Regions from separate parts of the Homo sapiens genome. Here regions 2 and 3 are each linked to region 1. The links are contacts of gene promoters, found by promoter capture Hi-C in blood cells and fetal thymus (Javierre and others, 2016). All regions are on one chromosome and are shown on one strand. Each heading gives the region's core, a stretch centred on a gene start or on the middle of the fragment in contact. The rest is flanking DNA. Distances are from core to core; before and after follow the strand shown. Region 1 holds the start of PTTG1IP2 (PTTG1IP family member 2). Region 2 holds the start of STEAP2-AS1 (STEAP2 antisense RNA 1). Region 3 overlaps STEAP2-AS1 (STEAP2 antisense RNA 1).

Region 1 (3,977 bases), core at 1,382-3,881:
TCGTATACTCCTTTATTTCTTTATTTTGCTGTGCAGGGTTTACATAGTTGCTCTATTGTTTTCATTCTACTAATGCTTGCACAGCTCTGTTCAGACCTTCCATTTGTTCTGATATAGTGTAGGTGAGATCCTAACCACCTTACCATGATCCTTGAGATTTTTTTCAAGAAGCTACAGTTTTATGGCATTTTATGTTCTATTCACTCCATTGTTTTCAGCATTAGACAAGGGGGAGAACTCAAATGAGGCTGTGCCAGGCTTTGTTAGAATATCTGACTCTGCTCTCTCTTTTGAGGTTTGTCATTTTCCAGTGCCAAGGTTTGCTAGAGCTTATCAGAGGTGTTTCCCATTTCCATGAAGGGGTATCTTTGGACTCTAGATCCACCCTCAAATCCAGCTTGTAACGCAGGAACCTGAGTTTCCTTCAGAGAGTCAGGCCCTCTCTCTTCAGGTCCTCATTCCACCTATTTCTCTGCAGTAGCCATTTCCTCTTCTCATCTTCGGAATAAGAAAAAGAATGGATACCCCCTCAACTTGTTTCTCTCCAGATTTGGGAGAATTAATAAAAATTATTGGATTATAGTAACTCACTAGTTACCTCTAAGGGAGAGTGGCAACATTTGGAGTCTTGCCATGCTGTGCTATTCTGTTCTGATCTAGAATCTTCCAGTTCTTTCCTTAGTTGCCACTTATTTTTTGCACTATGCCCCTTTGTTGTCTGGTTACTTTTAGTGAAGAAAATTCTCTAGGTTTCAGTATATTTTTTAATCCAGTCATTAGATTCTAGAAGATTAACCCAAAGTTGCATCAAGTGCTTTCTATAATTTCTTGAGATATTGATTACTAAGCTCTCAAATGTAAATGAACATCAGAGATAGAAGTCCTGGGGATCAAAACAACCTGCTTAGGGGGAGGTCTCACTTGATGTGCAATCCTTCACAAAGTCCTGTCTGTTGCCTGTCACTTAGGGCACAATCTGGGACATAGATGAGGATCTCGTGAAGGCTTAGAAGCCCCTTTTCAGTTTTGGAAGTGAAAAGTATCATGATGTCTAAGAAACCATATCCTTGTTAGATGGGAAGATTAAATGCAAGCACTAAGGGGAACTGGCCTGAGACTAAGATGCAAGCATTCAGGAGAGGCCCTTGGCAGGCAAGGTGTTTCCTTAGAAACATGGGCTCCAGTTGGCCAGCCCTAGAAGTGAGCTAGCTAGCAACAGAAACTTCCATCTTTGGAGATTATCTTAGATGTGATTTTTGATTTATTTTATTTGTTTTCTTTCTTTTTTCTTTTTTTTTTTTTTTTTGTTCTTCATCAGCATTTTGATAAAGTCTTAAGACGTGAAAAATTTCCGGTATGAGTCCAGTTTGCTAGGGAACAAAAGGAAGAATTTGTTTTTATGTTTGGGCCTATGCTTTCAGGTGCTGTTTGTTGGGAGAAGGGGCCAGGATGGCACTGGAACACTATTTCTCTTAGAGTATGTATAGAGGTGACCAAGAGGTTAAAAAAGAGAAATCTGTGGGAAAGATGAAACCAAAGAAAACAAGCTAGCTCTTTTAATTCAGCGTCGCCCCAACCCTACCCCCTCGAAGGAGATTCTTATTTCAGTGCAACGCTGAGAACTGTGGATTTGGTTTTAGTAAGGAAGACTGATTTGCTTACAGATACTAACATTCTTTTCTACTCTGGAAACCAGACAGCAGTAATTATTCTGTCTCATTGTCTTTGTAAAAATGGCAATCTTGGCTTTACAGGGCACTTTCCAAGTAATTCAAATTCTGTCTCTTATTTTGTCTATACGGTTCCAATTTAGGATACTTAAAACCTTATTTCCAGGTTCATGAATTTAACTCAGCATGACTTTTAACATTTCAAAATTTTTTCAATTTGGAAGGAAATCGAGAGAGGCCTCCAAACTGAAGTAATTTTTTTATGAAAAAGAACAAATAAAGCATTTTATTAACTAAGACCTTAAAAAACTTAAGAAAGAGGAACTATGACCATTGAGTGGGTCTGATTAGAACAAAACCCAATGGCTTATTCACAACAAAAAGCTTATATGTCATAGGTCATGCAGAAAGTGATGGGGGAGAAACCATGCTTTTCCTCAAATTTAAAACTTTGAATCTACCTTTCATATTTCAGATAAACCAAATTAATCTGAGTCCAATTTAACTGAGTTTCACCAAAACCATCTAGAACCTTTAAAATGTCTTCCCACCAACACCAAATGACAACTTTTGAGATGAAAATTCCAGTGCACCAGGATGGCACCATTAAAAGGAAAAAAAACGCTGGAGCATGTGGGGCACCCACCTCAGGACTCCAGATCACTCACCCTCTTCATTCCCATCTCTTGGTTTCTGATTGTTCCTGGGGCTGTGGATAAAACCATTCTCTGAGAAGCTGATAAGCAATTGGATGAGAAAGAGGGAGAGGAAAACTGGCAGGAGGATCTGGCCCCATGCCCGCAGCCAGCACATCTCTCTTCAGACCTGGTGACCCCAGCCACTGGGAACCTGGCAGGCACCAGCTACAGTGTTGGACACTGAGACCCGCCCAGAGACTGTGACCTACCACAGCCCTGGGTGCTGAAGCTGCCACTTGCAAGCCCTGGATGCCAGCATAATCAGCAGAACCTTAGAATCCCTAATGTTCTAGCCAGAATGTAGAATGTTCATAGTGCAATCCTCGTCGGCACTGGGTCCAGCTTCCTGGGCCCTGAATACCATGTACAGTTGGTCCACTGGACTTGACTGAGGTCTATTTCTCCCAAATCAACACTTTTCCCTACTACATTGTTGTTTTTTGGAGAAAGACCTGGATTCTAATTCTCACTACTTGAATATGTGTACAGAAGTTGCACTCTTCCATGCTGCCTTTTCTCTGATGTAAATGAACCTACCACCCACTGCACTCCATGGGAGTGGTTGTGCGATCAATGAGTGGTAAGGCCGTGAAACTCACAGCTCTGTAAACCCTTGGTCTTGTCCTTGACTAGCCTGGTGATCCTATTGACGTGCTCTAATGCAGTTTCCTAAAGGTAGGTATGTTTTGGGTAGTACATAAATGTCTTTTATTTTCATAGTTATGAATTTATTTTAATGCGTATTGGAAAAATATAACCAGTAGTTACAATGATGTAATAGCAACGATATATGCTTTTAAAATAAATCTGTGCAAAAAGGACAATTTTCAGAAATATAAATAGTACACAACTTAAAGGATATGGCAAAAATTGGGGAGGTGGTTCCAGAATGACTGAAATTTGAGCAATCTTGCCCCAGTATGTGTGGTTGGGGAGGGGTAGAGGTGGGTGATGAAAACTTGTCCTTGACCAGGAATTATCTTGTTTTGTTTTTCAAAAACGATCAGGTGGGAAGATCGCTTGAGCCAAGAAGTTCGAGGCTGCAGTGAGCTATGATCGCATCAGTGCACTCCAGTCTGGGCAACAAAGCAAGACCTTTTCTCTAAAAAAATTATTTAAAAAAATTTAAAAAACAAATGTTGCAGTTTTCCCATAGTATTCCTGGCATATTGATCTAGACTGCATCCTGAGGACTATGGGTCTAGTATGGACAATAAAGATGGAGGAGGAGAAGATGTGCAGAGTTCCAGGCTAATTTTTCTTCACCCATTTGCAATGCAGAGGACAGACAGAGGGTTATTAGCTATAATATAAAAAGTGCTTTTATAAATTGACAAAAAAAAGGACAAAAGATAAACAATAGGAAAACGGACAAGAGATGTGGAGAATCCATGGACAGAAAAGCAAATCCAAGTAGCCAATGAATATATGAAAAAAATAGTTTAGAAACACTAGTACTAGGAACTAGGAAATTATAAATTAAAACTAATAATGTAAACATCAGGTAGGCAAGCATTTAAAAAGAAAACTAAGATATCATTGGTGAAGTTGTGGGGGAAAAGGTACTATTATACTTTTTGGAGGAACTGTAAATTGTTACAGTGTCTTT
Region 2 (3,981 bases), core at 412-2,911, 260 kb after region 1:
TCACCACATTTTCCATAGCACCAGTACAATAAAAAGTGACTTGGATAAAGCTTTTCATTTCCTTACTGCACAATTTGCTCAAGTTGTCATTCTCAATATTGTCTCATTTCCCCATACCCTGACAGAGTGACTAGCTAAGAGGCAGAGAGTGCAGCCATCCCAATGGCAGCACACATAGTTACTCTTTATGTTTCTAAACATCCTGCAAATTATTTAGGACGGGTGTTTTGTTTTGTTTTGTTTTGCTTTTCCATTAAATAGCCTCTAAGCTTTGAAGCAACCAAGAGAGAATCGGAGTAAAAAAATTATAGGGTTAAAGAAAGAAAAAATAAACAGATCAATAAAATGAAGAAATAATAAAGTGGAGAAAAGGAAGGATGGGGAGGTGGTTTAGAAAACAAAAAGGGTTCCAAGCAGCGGGGCTGTTAAAAGGACCAGAATCTAAGTCAGGAGGTTGGGGGTGGGGGTGGGGGTGGGGCAGGAGTCTGAATTCTTTTTCTCCTATACTGATGAGCGATAATTAACTATGGCCTGGACTGTCTTTCCATCTAAAAAACTAACTGCCCGAGGAGTAAAAACTGACACCAATCCTTCTCCACGGGGTGGGAGAGATAATAAATGGAAATCTTCCAACAAAAATGCTCTTTATCTCTCTGCTCTATTTTAAGAGCAAGATTTTTAGGGCATAATTTTCAACAAGTTTTGGCTGAGGCTGAACACAGGGTTCAAAGATAATTTAGGACAGTCAAAGAAGAGGCCAATTACTTTCTAACAGAAATGGCCTAAACACCACGATTACATTACTGGGAAATAAACCAAATGACTGCTAGAAATACCTGTTCGCAAAGCAGCACTGCATGATCTTCCATGAAATGCCCTGCATCAACCCAAAGTAGCAGGGAGACTATCAAGGGGGCGAAAGTAACCTGCCTGTCCTTTCCTGCTGGGACACATCCTACCTGGGACAATGTCTCCTTGCCTTCTTTCTCCTGGGCCCAACCTCAGGACTTGCCCTTAGCTCTAGGAACCAAGAGGAGGAGGAGGGGGAATCAGTGGAACAGACACCCTTCTCCACCCTTCTCACTTTCCACCTTAAGGTGCCAGGAGATGAGGGACCCCGCAGCTCAGGGCGGACGCCCGGTGAGGGCGCAGAATCGGGGAGGATGGATGCAGCGCGTGGCGCAGACTGCATCTTGACCCTCAACTCCGCCGCCGCTACCTTCTTTCGCGCTCCTCCCCGACCCGCTCACCTCCGCGCCCCCCGCGCCCTCCACGCCGGGCAGGGGCGAGCCTTGCAGCTCCCCGGGAGCGGCGCCGACTCCCCAAGGGCCCACCCGGGGGCCAGGGCCTACGGACTGCACCTCCGACTGGCGGTTGCAGGGTGGCTGCCGCGGCGGTCGCACTCCAGCTGCTTCCCCGCCTACCCAAGCTGGATCGCGAACAGCCAGGGGAGAAGGAAGGAGGGAGGCGCGCGGAGGCCGGCTTGGCAGCGACGCGCCGCTAGGGGCTGCGTGCCCGGACAGCTCGTGGCGCCGAGGGCCCGAGGAACGCTGACTGGAGTCGGGAAGAGCCGTGGAGCGCGGGGAGGAGTCGGGGAGCTCGGAGGGGGCGGGGGTGTGTGAAGGGAGCCGGGCTGTGTGGAGGGAGCTGGGAAGGGCCCAGAGCACCGAGGGGGAGCCAGCAGTGAGTGCACTGGGGAGCTCCACACACGCGGCTCCGCAGCTTTGCGCGCCCTTCTACCGCGAGCGGCTGAGTATCCGCCTGGCTCCCCTGCGGGGTTCCTCCGTGGTCTTCCGGAGATTCTTTCTGAAGCAGCTTTAGAATAGTCAAGCCTATTTTTCTACTCCATTTCTTTTTGTAATGTGGGGTCACCTTTCCGCTCTAGAAATTGCTTTTCTTACGCGATTCCCACCCCAACTCTCGCCAAGGGCCCTGGTTCTCATCTCCCCAGTCTTAGCTTCTGACAAGCCTCCAAGAAACTGCGCTTTTTTCTTTTGTAAGTGTTCTTTTGCCTCATGTTTACCCTATCCCAAACGTCTTTTGACTAGACTGTGTCCTTGGAATAAAATGTTCGGAAATGCCCTTTCATGAAAACTCCCTCGGATAGGAGGACCCTCACAGACCCTGGACTGCAGAGATTATTCTGTTGACTTTGACCTTCACTCTAGCTGGTGCCGCGCGAGCTTTGGTGTGGGGGAAAGGAAGGTTAGGCCGTGAGTCAGGAGACCTGTGTTCCTGCGAAAGCCATTTACCTTCTGGGGCCGCAATGGCTTTGAATGTTTCAGGGGATCCCCTGAGAGCACCTTTGGCTCTGGGTTTCTGTAAATTTTCTCCCTGCGGATTACCAAGTAAAAGTACCTTTTATCTTTTGTGTAGAAGGTGTCAGTAGAAGAAGCAAGAGATCTTTATTCCCAAATATAAAATCAACTTACCAAAAATTCTCAAATTTGGGGAAATTTTTTTCATACATTAGTAAAGTACCATTTCAACAAATTAAGTTTAAAAATTATCCCTCTAGGTGGTTTATTAACCAGACCAAAAAAACCCAACAACAACAACAACGAGAGGGGGGTCTTAGATCGATCACTGGGGCACTGCACTTTCCCCTTTGTAGTCCATACACAGATTAACCTTTGTAAATGCTGCTTTGGAAATACATCCTTTGTTTGACTTGAAATGTAACCCCTCCCCTACCGCCAAATATTATTAAGGTTTAAAGTTTAGGCAGAAGCTAAGGTTTTAACGATGTGTCAGGGTGTGGAACCATCGACAGCTGGTAGAATACTTTCCATTTTGGTTACTGGAAACAAGTCATTAAATCTAATATCAATTTTAATAATTTCACTTCAACAAAACTGTCAAATAATGAGATTCGTGGAGTTTTTTCTAGTAGTTCCTCTGGAGAACTTGTGGAGAAAATTCATGAATCTTAGCAGTTAACGGAAAGTATATTGCTTTTCCATATATTTTAAAAAACTATAGAATTATATAACTTCCCCACGGGGATATTAAAAGAAATTGCACTTTCTAACTTCTATAACCATAAATTATCATGTAAAACATGTAGGTAAGCCATATATTTTAAATATGTTTAAAAGCTCTCTTAACATGGGCTTTGACTATTGAGAAAATAGATAAAGTAATGTGAAATCCCTTTTCCTAAATGAGAATCAGTGAGTCAACAATTTGCAGCTTCCAAAAGGGATATCTCTTTTTCATGCTTGAACTATTAAAATAAACAAATATCTTTGATGGGAAATCTAATGTTACCAAATGTGTTCCAGAAGACTGTTGGTGTTAATGCAAAGCATGATTCCTTTAACTTCCATGGTAACTAATTTTATCATTGTTTTTCAGCTGGAGATGCAGAGTATGAAAATGATTTTGCAAGACTTTTCCAGGTCATGAGGTGCTCTCTGAGAAATCTCTTCTGTTCCCTAAAGTAGTAAGTGACTCAACTGAAGCGAAGCAATAATTATTAAATGGATCTCTAGTGGCCTAGGGGCATTAACACATTTTTTTCCTTTGAAGTTATTATACAATTAAATAACTTTAGAGTGGTAGTTCCCAAAATGTGTGACTTTAGGCACTAGTTTGCCTAAATGCTGCTCTAGCAAGTCATTCACTTCAAAAATATTGAGCCACTTCTATATGCCCTGGCTGGCACTCTAGGAACAGTGGTGAAGAAGACAGATATATTTACCTGTCCTGATAGAAGTTACAGTTTGGTGAAAACGATAAATTAGTAACAAGTGCAAATAAGATTTATGCAGATTTATTTACACAAAATAAATGTAAGTCGTGATGTAAATAGTAGATTTTGAGATAAACAATAAGAGAAATCTCTTCATTTTAGAGATCCACAATGTATGTTAATAAATTAAAGGCTCTGAAAATTCCTATGGTAAAAACATTTTACCTAACCTATTCCCCAAACCCCCAAATTTGTTTTGAACAAATTTGTTTGTAAGCAGTGCTTAT
Region 3 (4,020 bases), core at 1,257-3,756, 290 kb after region 1:
CAAAATGCTCAGAAAAACAAAAGGTGCTCTGGCAATGACAAACCCATGTGTCCTCCTTCCACTAGAAATGATTTTATGCCCTATAAATATCTTTCTCTATATTATCCAATATCCTTTAATTCCCTTTTTCCTCAATTTTCTTTCCTTTTTAAAAATTTATAATCTATTTCTTATTTCTGAAAAAAAACTTTTTCTTTAACATAATCGTGAAGCAAACAAGATACATCATTTGAAAAAACAAAACAGAAATGTAGAACAAGGAAGTTAGGCTAGATAAACACTAAGATTTCCTTTAGCTCATAAACTTAAATAATAAATCTTAGGCATTTTGTATTCAGCATCAATGAACTCCTTGAATAATAATGGAAAATATTTTTAATGATAAAATTATACAAACTATGTTTTTTGATGCTTTTTCATCCAATTGTAAAATTCTAAGAACATTTAAAAGGTATTTATGGGCTTGAAAAAACTGACATTCTTCTCTATTAAGTATCTTATTCATAAGAGGCCAAATCTTGATATTCAATAGAGTTTGTGCAACACAGCAAACAAGGAAGTGGAACAATGCAAAGAAAACAAATTCATCACTCCCCTGCCTCCCTTGCCCCACACCTTGGAGTCACTGAATACTTTTTCTTTGAAGTCTAGAAAAATCTCTTCTTGCATGATTTGATTGGTGCCTTCCCTAGATATTTTGCATTTACTTTCCCTGCATTCAGTTGAATATTTTCATGAAAAATAGAGCCTTGTTCAAAAACATTTGTTTTTGCAACTGTGAAAGATCTAGCAAAAGCACTGGTAATTTTAGTGATTTTCTAAAATCACACAGCAGAGTTTTTGTCATTGGAAATACACTACTGGAAATACAAAGTTTTCTTAAGTCATGTAGGAACATCAAAAGGACCAAGCTGATGCAATATTCACATAACAATTGTTTGATGAAAGCAAGGGAATTTCCAGTCAACCATTTCTAACCACACTTCACCTGGCTAACATTAGGGCTATTTGACTTTTTAATTCTATTTGCATTAAGAAAGGCAAGCCAAGAGAGAATCAAGAGTCAATTTGTTTCATAACTTTCCTTGCATGATGCTGTTCTTTTTCTCTGTTTCTCACTCTAGCTTCCCTCTTGTTGACAGTTCATCTCACATAGGCTGTTTATAATGGAGAAGAAATTATCTTTCAGGATAAAGGCAGAATGCCAAAGTGGGTGGCAAACTTTTGGCAGTATTCTGGGTTTTCTTAAACACAATGCACATTCTTTTTCCTTTATCCCCTTAGAAGCGAAAAATGAAACTCACCAACTTTTATGGAACAAATTTAGTTCAGCCTTCAGCTGACCTAGTGTTCTTTTTTTCTGTAGTTACCTCATGTAGAAGATTCTTGAGCATTCTTGTGTAAGATTATTAAAAAATATATTTTGCTCCTTTTTTTTTGGTATGACTTTGCAGTATACCAGTGTAACTTAACAATAAAATTCCTCTTTTCATGTCACAAGTTTGGTTGCCCTAGTTTAAAATTATATGTTGAATTATGAAAATCAAGCATTTATTTACCAAGGAGAAAAGAGAATTCTACTTTGGAATTGTTTATATAGGCTTAGTGTAATTTCCCACTCATATTTTTTTCCTAACAAGTGGTCTGGAAAGCCATTCCTCCTCTACTAGTGATATTATACAAATGTAAAGAAAATCTGAAATCATTTTTATTTTCACTGACTTCTCATGAATGAATCCCAATTTCTGTATTATTTGCTGAAAAGAATGAAAAGATTGATTTTGTCAAAATGCACTACTGTGAGGAAAGAAACGTGGTTTGCGATTGAATAATAGAGTAAAATACTGGCCTATATTAAAATAGTTGGCCTTAAAGAAAATTCGGAGAGACTAGATTTGGATTGTACATATAAAAACAATATGTTATTTCTCTAGCCTATGTAATATAGATTTAGAAAACTAGTTAAGTATAGAAAGCTTAGGCAATAATGGGCTATTTTGTAGTTGCATTTCAAGTTTTTGAAACAATTTTCATTAAGTTTCACATTAGATTTGCTTTTTGTTAAGTTAAAAAATAAATCTCTAAAAGGAAGAAATGGTGGCTGTTCACTCAAAAGCATATCTCACTATCTTGACTAGTCCATGGGATTTTAATAGTTATTCTGGAAATACTTTTGAAGAGGAACTATCAATGAAGTTTTGCTTAATTGTTAGGGCTGGGTATCTAAAAACTGAAGTGAAACCCAGAGATGGGTCAGGAAGTCGTAGTGGTGACTAACAGAGGTGACTAATGGAGGTGTCAGATTGTTCATGGCCTTCTGTGCCACCAGAAAGAATTTTGCCATAAAGTATTTATGAGCAGTCATTGAACAATGCCTGGATGTGGGTTTTTAAGTGTCTCTTTTCCTAGCACTGTTACATACTCTATTCTTTTGGTAACCCGAAGCAGTCGCAGAACTTACTGAGCTGGTGAGCTCATTAGGCCAGGACTGAAGATTCTGCCAGGCGTGGGGAGATTTGCTTTGTTTTGCACCTTTGGACTCTTCTCCAAGCCTTCCAATGACACAGATGTACATACTTTATCACAAACAGGAGAAAACACGAGAGTATAGAAGGATTGGTGCTGAGCTGTCAGCATGACATGGTGGCACCAGTACTGGCTACAAAGTCAGGAGGCCTGCCTCCCAGCCCTTGTTCTGCCACCCACAAGCTCATGACTCTGGAAAAGTCTCCGTATGCTGGCTTCATTGTCAGTTATCAGGGAGACTTCATAGGGGTTTATAATTTGAAATGATGCTAGTTAGCATTTACAGATATTATATTGGATTACAGATATTAGATTATAGATTATATTACAGATATTGGATTATAGATGTGTAGACATTAGAATGTCTTCGTATAAATGCTGCTTCTTATGAGAGACGGATGCTAGCTGGATTTTAGAGAAGCAGTTGGGTGATGATACATTGGCACCAGCCCATTTATAGCTGGGACCAGAATTATAATTGCCTCTTTCCCTTCAGAACATGAAGCTTTGTGAGAAAAATGATAATTTTAGTACACTTAGCTCACTATTGATGACATCCCTTCTAGCAATACCATCTACTGCCCAGCTTTTTCTAGAGCCAAATCTTAGCAATGTGCATAATCACCTACTTTGTCTCCTCAATTATTTGGAATCAGATTCTTCTTTCCAAAGAAAAAAGTCTGTTTCTTCCTTATGGAAGTTTTTGGGATTTTTCTCTTTATCCTTGGTGGCCTGAAGTTCCATCAAGCTTGCAAAGGCGTGCATTCCTCCCCTCCCTCCTCAGCCCCTTCATCTTACAGAGGTTTTGCTCTGAAGTCTAGTGTCTTTCTCTAGCTCCAAGAAATTTCCCTCCATTATTTATTTGTTTTCTTATTTTATTGCTTCTATTGCATCCTTCTGAAACTTACACAATGGGTATTTGAGATCATTTGGGTCTCTTTTCATGCCCCTTAACTCTTCTTTAAAGTTTTCCATTTTATGAATTTTTTCTTTTGAACTGTGTTCTGGGAGAATCCCTCAGTTTAGACGTTTAGTTCTGTAAATTAATCTTCAGCTATATCTATTTTGGAAATTAGTTTCCCTATTAATATGTAAAGTTTTCTCCTTTTTGGATCCTGGGTGTAAATAGTTAATCACACCATCTTAATTCATAGCACAGTTTTATAATTTGCCCATGTGTCTTGTTTCATTCATTCATTCATTTTTAATTTGTATAAATTTAGGGAATACAAGTTCGTTTTCTTAAATGGTTATATTACATAAAGGTAAAGTTTGGGCTTTTAGTGTAACCACTACCCAAATAACGTACATTGTACCTACTGAGTAATTTCTCATCCTTTACTCCCCTCCTACCCCTCTGAATCTTTTGAGGCCTTAGTCATGAATTCTTTGTCTAGGCCAATGTCCAGAAGAGTTTTTCCTAGGTGTTCTTCTAGGATTTTTTTAGTTTTGGGTCTTAAATTTAAGTCTTTAATCTATCTTGGGTTAATTTTT

The links. Contacts are between HindIII fragments. The CHiCAGO score rates a contact against its expected background, and 5 or more counts as called.
Region 2: a contact is called between the fragment with the promoter of STEAP2-AS1 here and the fragment with the promoter of PTTG1IP2 in region 1, in 17 of 17 cell types (total CD4 T cells, total CD8 T cells, naive CD8 T cells and 14 more). The highest score is 39.9, in total CD4 T cells.
Region 3: a fragment that was not itself captured here is called in contact with the fragment with the promoter of PTTG1IP2 in region 1 in 1 of 17 cell types (naive CD8 T cells); the score reaches 5.6 in naive CD8 T cells.

What each region holds. Positions count from the first base shown.
Region 1 is chr7:90,468,293-90,472,269 of GRCh38, reverse strand. PTTG1IP2 (PTTG1IP family member 2) reads right to left here and starts at 2,631. Exons shown (of 7, transcript NM_001365443.2): 1 at 2,339-2,631. The coding sequence starts at 2,483. The HindIII fragment of the contact is 9,262 bases long and covers 2,057-3,977 here.
Region 2 is chr7:90,209,315-90,213,295 of GRCh38, reverse strand. STEAP2-AS1 (STEAP2 antisense RNA 1) reads left to right here and starts at 1,661. Exons shown (of 3, transcript NR_110029.2): 1 at 1,661-1,996; 2 at 3,358-3,445. It overlaps STEAP2 (STEAP2 metalloreductase), which reads right to left and starts at 1,556. Exons shown (of 6, transcript NM_001244944.2): 1 at 1,251-1,556. RefSeq lists a silencer at 1,394-1,453. The HindIII fragment of the contact is 5,296 bases long and covers 272-3,981 here.
Region 3 is chr7:90,177,399-90,181,418 of GRCh38, reverse strand. All of the region lies in intron 2 of STEAP2-AS1 (STEAP2 antisense RNA 1), which reads left to right. Among named protein-coding and RNA genes, the nearest start is that of STEAP1, 25 kb to the right of the region's middle. RefSeq lists enhancers at 686-1,187, 2,406-2,455, 2,466-2,525. The HindIII fragment of the contact is 1,055 bases long and covers 1,979-3,033 here.